Linked DNA regions of Homo sapiens: regions 1 and 3 are each linked to region 2. Evidence: promoter capture Hi-C in 16 types of primary human blood cells and fetal thymus (Javierre and others, 2016). All regions are on one chromosome and are shown on one strand. Each heading gives the region's core, a stretch centred on a gene start or on the middle of the fragment in contact. The rest is flanking DNA. Distances are from core to core; before and after follow the strand shown. Region 1 has its middle 7.2 kb from the start of LINC01686. Region 2 holds the start of RGSL1 (regulator of G protein signaling like 1). Region 3 overlaps RNASEL (ribonuclease L).

Region 1 (2,700 bases), core at 127-2,626, 170 kb before region 2:
GGGAATACCCCATAGTTCCATGACTCACCTCTATAGCCGCGTCCCTGAAAAATCGAGTCTTTCATTCCCATGCCTAAAATGTTGCTGCCCAGCATACAATGGGCAGGAAAGGACACAATCAATGGATGGCAAAGACCACCACTTACTTGGCCTCTCCCTATACCTTGCTTGGCTACCTCCCCCCGAGTTCACCTTTGCCTCAGTGGCAAAGGAAGACCCTCCTGTTGCCATGGCTACTGGTCCTCTCCCCATACCACTCTCCTGACCTCCCACCACATCCCCTGCACTTCAAGCTTGAATGCGCCTCAGCTGCAGATGCTCTCACCTCCCCCTCCAGTCCAGGACCTCAGCCTTTCCGGTCCTTCCTTTCATTCCTTCCCACAGTCCTAACCCTTCGCTAGGAAGCCAGAGCTGCTCTGTCCTGGGCCCAGAGCCAGGTTATATTTTGATGCAACCCTAGGGACTCTTTGGGGTTTTTTTCCAGGTTTAGACTTATCGAACATCTTGCCAGACCAGGGAATATAGTCAGATTTCTTTTTCTGCTGCCTATACAGGAAGGAGAAGTGGGGGAGTCCCCTTCTATTATTAGAGAAATTTTGGTTTGCAACAGAAATTCAACTCAAACCAGCATGAATAAAAGGGAGTTTTGGTGAGAATACTGGAACACCCCATGGAATCTGTGAGCAGAAACAGTGAGCAGAACCCTAAGGAATGCAGAAGCCCTGACTTTCCTCCTCTTTTCAGTTTCTCTCTGCGTACTACCTTTCTCTTTTCTTGCTGACTGTTCTCTGTTTACCAGTTCACATGGCAAAAAATGGTCAATAGTTCCCACATTTACATCATCAGTCTTAACACAAAGATATGGCCAGGTGTGGTGGCTCACGCCTGTAATCCCAGCACTTTGGGAGGCCGAGGCGGGCGGATCACGAGGTCAGGAGTTCGAGACCAGCCTGGTCAACATGATGAAACCCCGTCTCTACTAAAAATACAAAAAAATTAGCCGGGCATGGTGGCGGACGCCTGTAGTCCCAGCTACTTGGGAGGCTGAGGCAGGAGAATCGCTTGAACCCAGGAGGTGGAGGTTGCAGTGAGCCGAGATCGCACCATTGCACTCCAGCCTGGGGGACAAGAGCCAGACTCTGTCTCAAAAAAAAAAAAAAAAAAAAAAAAAAAAAAAAAAAAAGACACTGAGAGGGAAACCAATCTATCCTTCATCCTGGGGTCCAAAATTCCCAGGTAAGAGACGGATTGGCCCAGGTTAATTTGAATGTGCTCAATCTGGTCAAGGAGGCAAGATCACATTATCAGAGCACAGCATTTCTGCTGCAACCACATGGACACAAGAAGGGAAGGGAAACTTTCTACAGAGGGGTACTGGGGCCAAAATCCAAAAGGTGTCTCCCAGACCCTCTCATGGAGCAAATTTTAACAGCCACCTCTCTAGGAAACTGGTCCCCCTCATTCTACATCTAGCCACCTAGGCGATATTGCTGATAATATGCTATTTACAGTTGTATCTTTTGCACCACTCCCCACCCCTCCTTAATCTCCTGGAGGACAGGGGCATGCTTAGGGTTGTTTGTGCCCTCCAGTGCTTATCCAGTGCCTGCACTCAGCAGGTTCATCTCATGTCTGCTGAGAGAACATGATGTTTACATGTACCAAGAATTGTTCTGGGCCCTTGACACATTAACACATAATCCTTGAAATAACCCTATGAGGTAGGAACATGTGAGGAGGGCGAGGAGGGTATGTAACTTGTCCAAAATCACAGTTAGTCAGTGTCATAGCCAGGATTCAAACCCAGGTGGTCTGGCACTCTGCTCTTAGTTCCTGGCCAGTAGACTTCACCACCTCTCCATCTGTGTTTGGTGAGTTTCTAGCTTAATCCTCAGGTTTTCTCAAGAGAGCCAAATCTGTAGATGCACACAGGCAGCGGTGTTTCTGGATAAGAAGGGAAAGTAGGAGTCAGGAGGTACTTGGCTCTTCCAAGATGGAACTGGCTACTCTCTCTTTCATGCCCATACCTTATCTGTGCACAGGTAGCACCTGGAACTTTTTCCTTCACCGATTTGTTTATGTGTCTGTTTTACATACATGACCAGTAGTGTTTGTTTTTAAAATTTATTTAATATAGTCTTATTTTAAATAAAAGTATTGCTGGGCAACTGGTTTTAAGTTGTATATGTAGAAGAAAATAATAAAATTAACTATCTCTTATTCATCTCCCCTCTGCTCCACCTCCCTTTCTCCAGTGAAAACCATTTTCAATGTTAAGGTATTCATCTGGTACTTCCCCTATATTTCTAACTCACAGAGTATGTGGCTGTCTCTTGAGTCATTAATTTCAGACATTAGTTATAGACTTCCTATTATGGTAATGAAGATATTAAAATCATGTACATTTTCCTCTTTTCTGCTAGCTCCCTAGTCCCCCAATTTCTGGTTAACAAAGCTTTTGTTATTGTGATTGTATAAATATTGTTTGCTATTAAGCCAAGTAATATATCTTATTTACCTGTACATTCTTGCATATTGTTTTTCTTTTTTCCTGGAGTTAGTAATTGCCTCTAATTTTTATTTGTTTAGTTTTCTATCAGCACCTGACTAAGCCCTCCCATGTGCTCCCACAGCTCTGTGAAACATGGCTCAATAACATTTCCACATTGTCAAGTCTATCAGATTTTTTTTTTTTTTTTT
Region 2 (2,700 bases), core at 74-2,573:
ATTAATAGTCATCCATTAAGAACTGGTTTACATATAATCTTGGTGAGCCAAGAAAGGTAGAATCTACTGCAATGGTAGAATTCATCACTATCTCCCTATACCATCACGTATATCCTCCATTATTACAATTAACAAGTCTGACTGTTTTTATCCATCGATATATCTGTCTTCCTCATCAGACTGAGCGTGTGAGAGGAGGGACTTTGTTTTTTCACCTTTCTTCCTCTAGGCTCTAAAAGTGTTTGCACAATGTCTAAGTTCTGTAAATGTGGAATAAATTGTTCTTTCAAAAGATAATCTTCAATCTTTTTTTTTTTTTTTTTTTGCCAAAGTCTCACTCCGTCACCCAGGCTGGAATGCAGTGGCAAGATCTCAACTCACTGCAGACTCTGCCTCCCAGATTCAAGTGATTCTTGTGTCTCAACCTCTCCAGTAGCTGGGATTACAGTGCATGCCACCACACCTGGCTAATTTCTGTATTTTCAGTAGAGATGGGGTTTTACCATGTTGGCCAGGCTGGTCTTGAACTCCTGACCTCAGGTAATCCACCTGCCTCAGCCTCCCAAAGTACTAGGATTACAAGGGTGAGCCAACGCTCCCAGCCAATGATTTTCAATCTTTTGGACTTTTGTTTGTTTATCATTCATAGAGTCTAACATGGATTTGTTGAATGAGTATATTACTGAGCCCATCTGAATACAGAAAAGTGGGGTTTGGCAGAAATTCCCTAGTGATTGTTGTTCACAGCTACACACACCGCTGGTGGCAAGGGGCCTGACTATGCTAGGGCTTGCCATTGCCAAAACAGTCTTAAGGAGATATAGAGACAAGGCTCTGTACATCCTTCCCTTCCTCATCCTCTCATTTCTCCATTCTTGTTTTTCCTTCTTACCTGTTCTGCCTTCAAACTTCCTAATAATTTGAGAAGGCTTTTAGCACCCATTCCACGCCATAATAATATTGACTTGGCAACAAATGAAATCACTGCATAATCTCAAACCCCATACCAGTCTTCTCTCTGGAGGAGAGGTGGCCCAATCCACATTTTACTTCCTCCCTCTTGCCTTAGTTGTCTTATGAATAAGGCCCTGTACTATCCTCAAAGATCTGGTGGCAGAAGGTAGGAGGAAGGGGAAGAAGGAGAAAGAGAAGGAAAACAAAGGCATGAATAACACAAAAGTCACCCATGGTGCCCCTGAATGGCTCAGATCTATTAACAATTGGGAAGATGAATGGTTTGCCTTATTTGAGAGACTCAAGGCCTTGGAGACATCCCTGGCAGAGACTCACCAGCACTGCTCATGTTGCCATGCTCTTCCTGACACAGTAATTTGTTAGGGGCAGAATTACCCCCCAGTCAATAGAACTATATCCATTGTGAACACGTAATGACACCTTCTCTAAGGGGTTCCAGATTCTATCTGGCAGTGATCTACTTACCTCTGGTGTAGGCCTTAATCTGAAGATAAGTCTTTATCTTACCTAATCTGCTGAATCCCCTTGGACATACAAGACTCCTCCTATACTTAAGCCTTTAGTTCATACTATTTTATTTGACAAGTTCTTTATAATTGTGCCCAAGATCTCTTGTCTGCTCCAACCTCTCCCATGCTAGGGTGACTTTTGCATTGCTAAACTCAGCTCCTAAGGGTCTTGTAAACGGTTACATTTGATGTAATTTTAATAAGCAGTAACTCCTGGATATTCTGCCCATTTAAAACATCAACCTCCATTGCTTCAGCCCAGGAATTCAAGGCTGCTGTGAGCTGTGATCACACCACTGAACTTCAGCTTGGGCAACAGAGTGAAACCTCATCTTTAAAAAATTAAAATTAAAACATCAGCTTCCAAGAGGTTTGAACTCCCTTCCTCTGAAGACTCTTCAGGCTCTTGGTTTTCTCATTAAACAACTCTTCATTTCTCCTGTTCTTCCCTAATAGGAAGTAAATATTAAGATGAGAGACCAAAAGCCCTATAATCCTTCAAACTTTAGCCAAGAATTACTGAGAATAGAATTCTTCAGTGTCACACCCAGAGAGGGCTTTTAAGTCTTGGGATTGTAGGGAAGCTTATATAATGTCCAAAAGGCTTTCCTATGGGGGGTGGAGGGAAAACTGAAAACTGGAAGGATTATTGTTAATAATGAATCGTCAATACAATATCACTTACATTTGAAAAAGTGCTGTACTTTCTTTAGAATATATAAAGACCAAATACTGCATTTTAAAGTGATTTTAGTGAGAAGAGATTCTTGCTTTACATCTTGATGTTCTATGTATTGCAAGATGAGATTGTAGCTTACCATACTTCTTCAATCTGTTATCAATTACCTTATTCACCTTATTAATTAGTCAGTTTAACATGCACACATCTTAAGAGAGTTCAGTGTGAAGCACTGCATGATTCTACAATATCATATTATTCCTTGAATTATCACCTCTTTTGCAAAATAAATAGAGTCAAGGTCTCCTCCTAAAATAATGGCATATACAGTAGTAATATATGCTCACATTCCTTAAGATGGAATGCTTTCAGACTGTTTTCAATCAAGCTGTGTGCACCTACCCTTGAGTCCTAATTGCTGCCCCACCGTCTTTCCCACAGTTCAAAAAGGCTGACTGTTGGAGCCATTAACAACCAAATAGGGTCACTCTAAAAACAGTAAAGATGAAAAGCCAGTATCACTGGCTAAATCTTGAA
Region 3 (2,700 bases), core at 79-2,578, 130 kb before region 2:
AGAGGTCTTGAAGATTCTCCTTGATGAGATGGGGGCAGATGTAAACGCCTGTGACAATATGGGCAGAAATGCCTTGATCCATGCTCTCCTGAGCTCTGACGATAGTGATGTGGAGGCTATTACGCATCTGCTGCTGGACCATGGGGCTGATGTCAATGTGAGGGGAGAAAGAGGGAAGACTCCCCTGATCCTGGCAGTGGAGAAGAAGCACTTGGGTTTGGTGCAGAGGCTTCTGGAGCAAGAGCACATAGAGATTAATGACACAGACAGTGATGGCAAAACAGCACTGCTGCTTGCTGTTGAACTCAAACTGAAGAAAATCGCCGAGTTGCTGTGCAAACGTGGAGCCAGTACAGATTGTGGGGATCTTGTTATGACAGCGAGGCGGAATTATGACCATTCCCTTGTGAAGGTTCTTCTCTCTCATGGAGCCAAAGAAGATTTTCACCCTCCTGCTGAAGACTGGAAGCCTCAGAGCTCACACTGGGGGGCAGCCCTGAAGGATCTCCACAGAATATACCGCCCTATGATTGGCAAACTCAAGTTCTTTATTGATGAAAAATACAAAATTGCTGATACTTCAGAAGGAGGCATCTACCTGGGGTTCTATGAGAAGCAAGAAGTAGCTGTGAAGACGTTCTGTGAGGGCAGCCCACGTGCACAGCGGGAAGTCTCTTGTCTGCAAAGCAGCCGAGAGAACAGTCACTTGGTGACATTCTATGGGAGTGAGAGCCACAGGGGCCACTTGTTTGTGTGTGTCACCCTCTGTGAGCAGACTCTGGAAGCGTGTTTGGATGTGCACAGAGGGGAAGATGTGGAAAATGAGGAAGATGAATTTGCCCGAAATGTCCTGTCATCTATATTTAAGGCTGTTCAAGAACTACACTTGTCCTGTGGATACACCCACCAGGATCTGCAACCACAAAACATCTTAATAGGTGAGTCCCCAATCCCCAATTCTCTCTTAGAAATTGTGGGATCTTTGTTTATGATAGGAAAAGTTTTTCATTGCAGAGAGGAAAGGCCTAGAGTAAATGTGGATGATTCAATTTGTGGATCATTATTACAACAAATTCATAATTACAGTGCAGTGTCTCCTGCTACCAATTATAACTGGGTTCTGTTAGTCTACATGAAGGTTGGTAGATGCCAACAGAATACCAGGCTAGCCTTAGATTGCCATTGGCAAAATAAACAGATGAAGGCATGTCATGGATCAAAGTAGCTCCAGAAATCTGAGAATCCTAGAGGTGAGTTCCTTCAGACAAGGTGGCAGTAACCATGAAACTTACTGACAAAATTGAGGTCAAAGTTGAGGATGTCAGGACAAGATGTGACGTAGTGAAGACACAGACTCCAAGGCAGAACAAGTCAGAATCCACTAGTCCAAGCCAAACAAAGGGAAGGAAAATAGCATTTTCTTTTAAATGTTAAAAGAAAAGCAAGGCTGACCGTAAAGTCCCAGGAAGCAATATGGTGCGGGGGAGCAAGCCAGGGCTTCAGCGATGATTAGGGTGGCTTGAAGCCTAGTCTCACTAGTTTGTAGTTTTGTAACCTCAGACAAGTCACTTGATACTGTGAGCCTCAGTTCCTCACTTGAGGCTGATAATGCCTCCTTCGTAAGTTTGTTATGAGGTCTAAGTGCAATGATGAAATAGTAAGTCATTTGGTACATCATAGGTGCTCAGGAAAGGCTGTTCTTGCCTGAAAGGTCTAAGCAGAGTACATACCTTATCCATAGACATGCACTGAGATTTAAGCTCAGTGTAAGGGAACAGCTCCTTTACAAATCTGTGCTTTCGGCCCCTGGAATTGCATGAACGAGGAGCTGGTTAAATTTGTCCTCATCCCTTCCTACCCCCTGGCCTGGAAAAAATAAAATGTAAGTGCTGCTCTTGGCAGATACCTAACAGATCAAATGAAACAGTGCACATGGCAGTGTTTTGAGGGGTGAATGGCAAATACAGATATAAGGTTTATTATTGCCTTCCACAGAGATGATGATTTTTATAGCATGTTACATATTTATATAAATCAATTGACTCTCACTTTATGGAGAATGAGTATTTTCAATGTGCCTCTGCAAACTTTTCCTTAGATTCTAAGAAAGCTGCTCACCTGGCAGATTTTGATAAGAGCATCAAGTGGGCTGGAGATCCACAGGAAGTCAAGAGAGATCTAGAGGTAAATTCTACAATCCAGTTTACCTTTCTTCTTTCTGCTTCCTTATTCTTTCATGTAGTAGTCAGGGTTCTCTAGAGGGACAGAACTAGTAGGACATATGTATATATGAAAGGGAGTTTATTAAGGAGAATTGACTCACACGGTCACAACATAAAGTCCCATAATAAGCCATCTGCAAGTTGAGGAACAAGGAAGCCAGTGATGGGTCAGTCTGAGTACCAAAACCTCAAAAGTAGGGAAGCCGACAGTGCAGCCTTCAGTCTGTGGCCAAAGGCCTGAAAGCCCCTGGCAAACCACTGGTGTAAGTCCAAAACTCCATAAGCTGAAGAACTTGGATACTGATGTTTGAGGGCAGGAAGCATCCAGCACGGGAGAAAGATGAAGGCCAGAAGTCTTAGCAAGTTGTCTGCTCTTTCATTTTCTGCCTGCTTTATTTTAGCCATGCTGGCAGCTGATTAGATGGTGCCCACCGTGACTGAATGTGGGTCTGCCTCTCCCAGTCCACTGACTCAAATG

Evidence for each region. The method cuts DNA at HindIII sites, captures the fragments that hold promoters and counts their contacts. A CHiCAGO score of 5 or more calls a contact.
Region 1: a contact is called between a fragment that was not itself captured here and the fragment with the promoter of RGSL1 in region 2, in 1 of 17 cell types (M0 macrophages). The highest score is 5.2, in M0 macrophages.
Region 3: a fragment that was not itself captured here is called in contact with the fragment with the promoter of RGSL1 in region 2 in 4 of 17 cell types (M1 macrophages, M0 macrophages, M2 macrophages and 1 more); the score reaches 13.6 in M1 macrophages.

Annotation. Positions count from the first base shown.
Region 1 is chr1:182,620,999-182,623,698 of GRCh38, reverse strand. No RefSeq gene overlaps it. Among named protein-coding and RNA genes, the nearest start is that of LINC01686, 7.2 kb to the right of the region's middle. RefSeq lists an enhancer at 822-881. The HindIII fragment of the contact is 2,162 bases long and covers 296-2,457 here.
Region 2 is chr1:182,448,769-182,451,468 of GRCh38, reverse strand. It overlaps RGSL1 (regulator of G protein signaling like 1), which reads right to left and starts at 1,323. Exons shown (of 22, transcript NM_001137669.2): 1 at 1,291-1,323. The coding sequence starts at 1,303. RefSeq lists an enhancer at 878-1,485. The HindIII fragment of the contact is 4,233 bases long and covers 1-2,070 here.
Region 3 is chr1:182,583,565-182,586,264 of GRCh38, reverse strand. RNASEL (ribonuclease L) reads left to right here. Exons shown (of 7, transcript NM_021133.4): 2 at 1-938; 3 at 2,099-2,184. Among named protein-coding and RNA genes, the nearest start is that of RNASEL, 4.3 kb to the left of the region's middle. The HindIII fragment of the contact is 3,899 bases long and covers 1-2,700 here.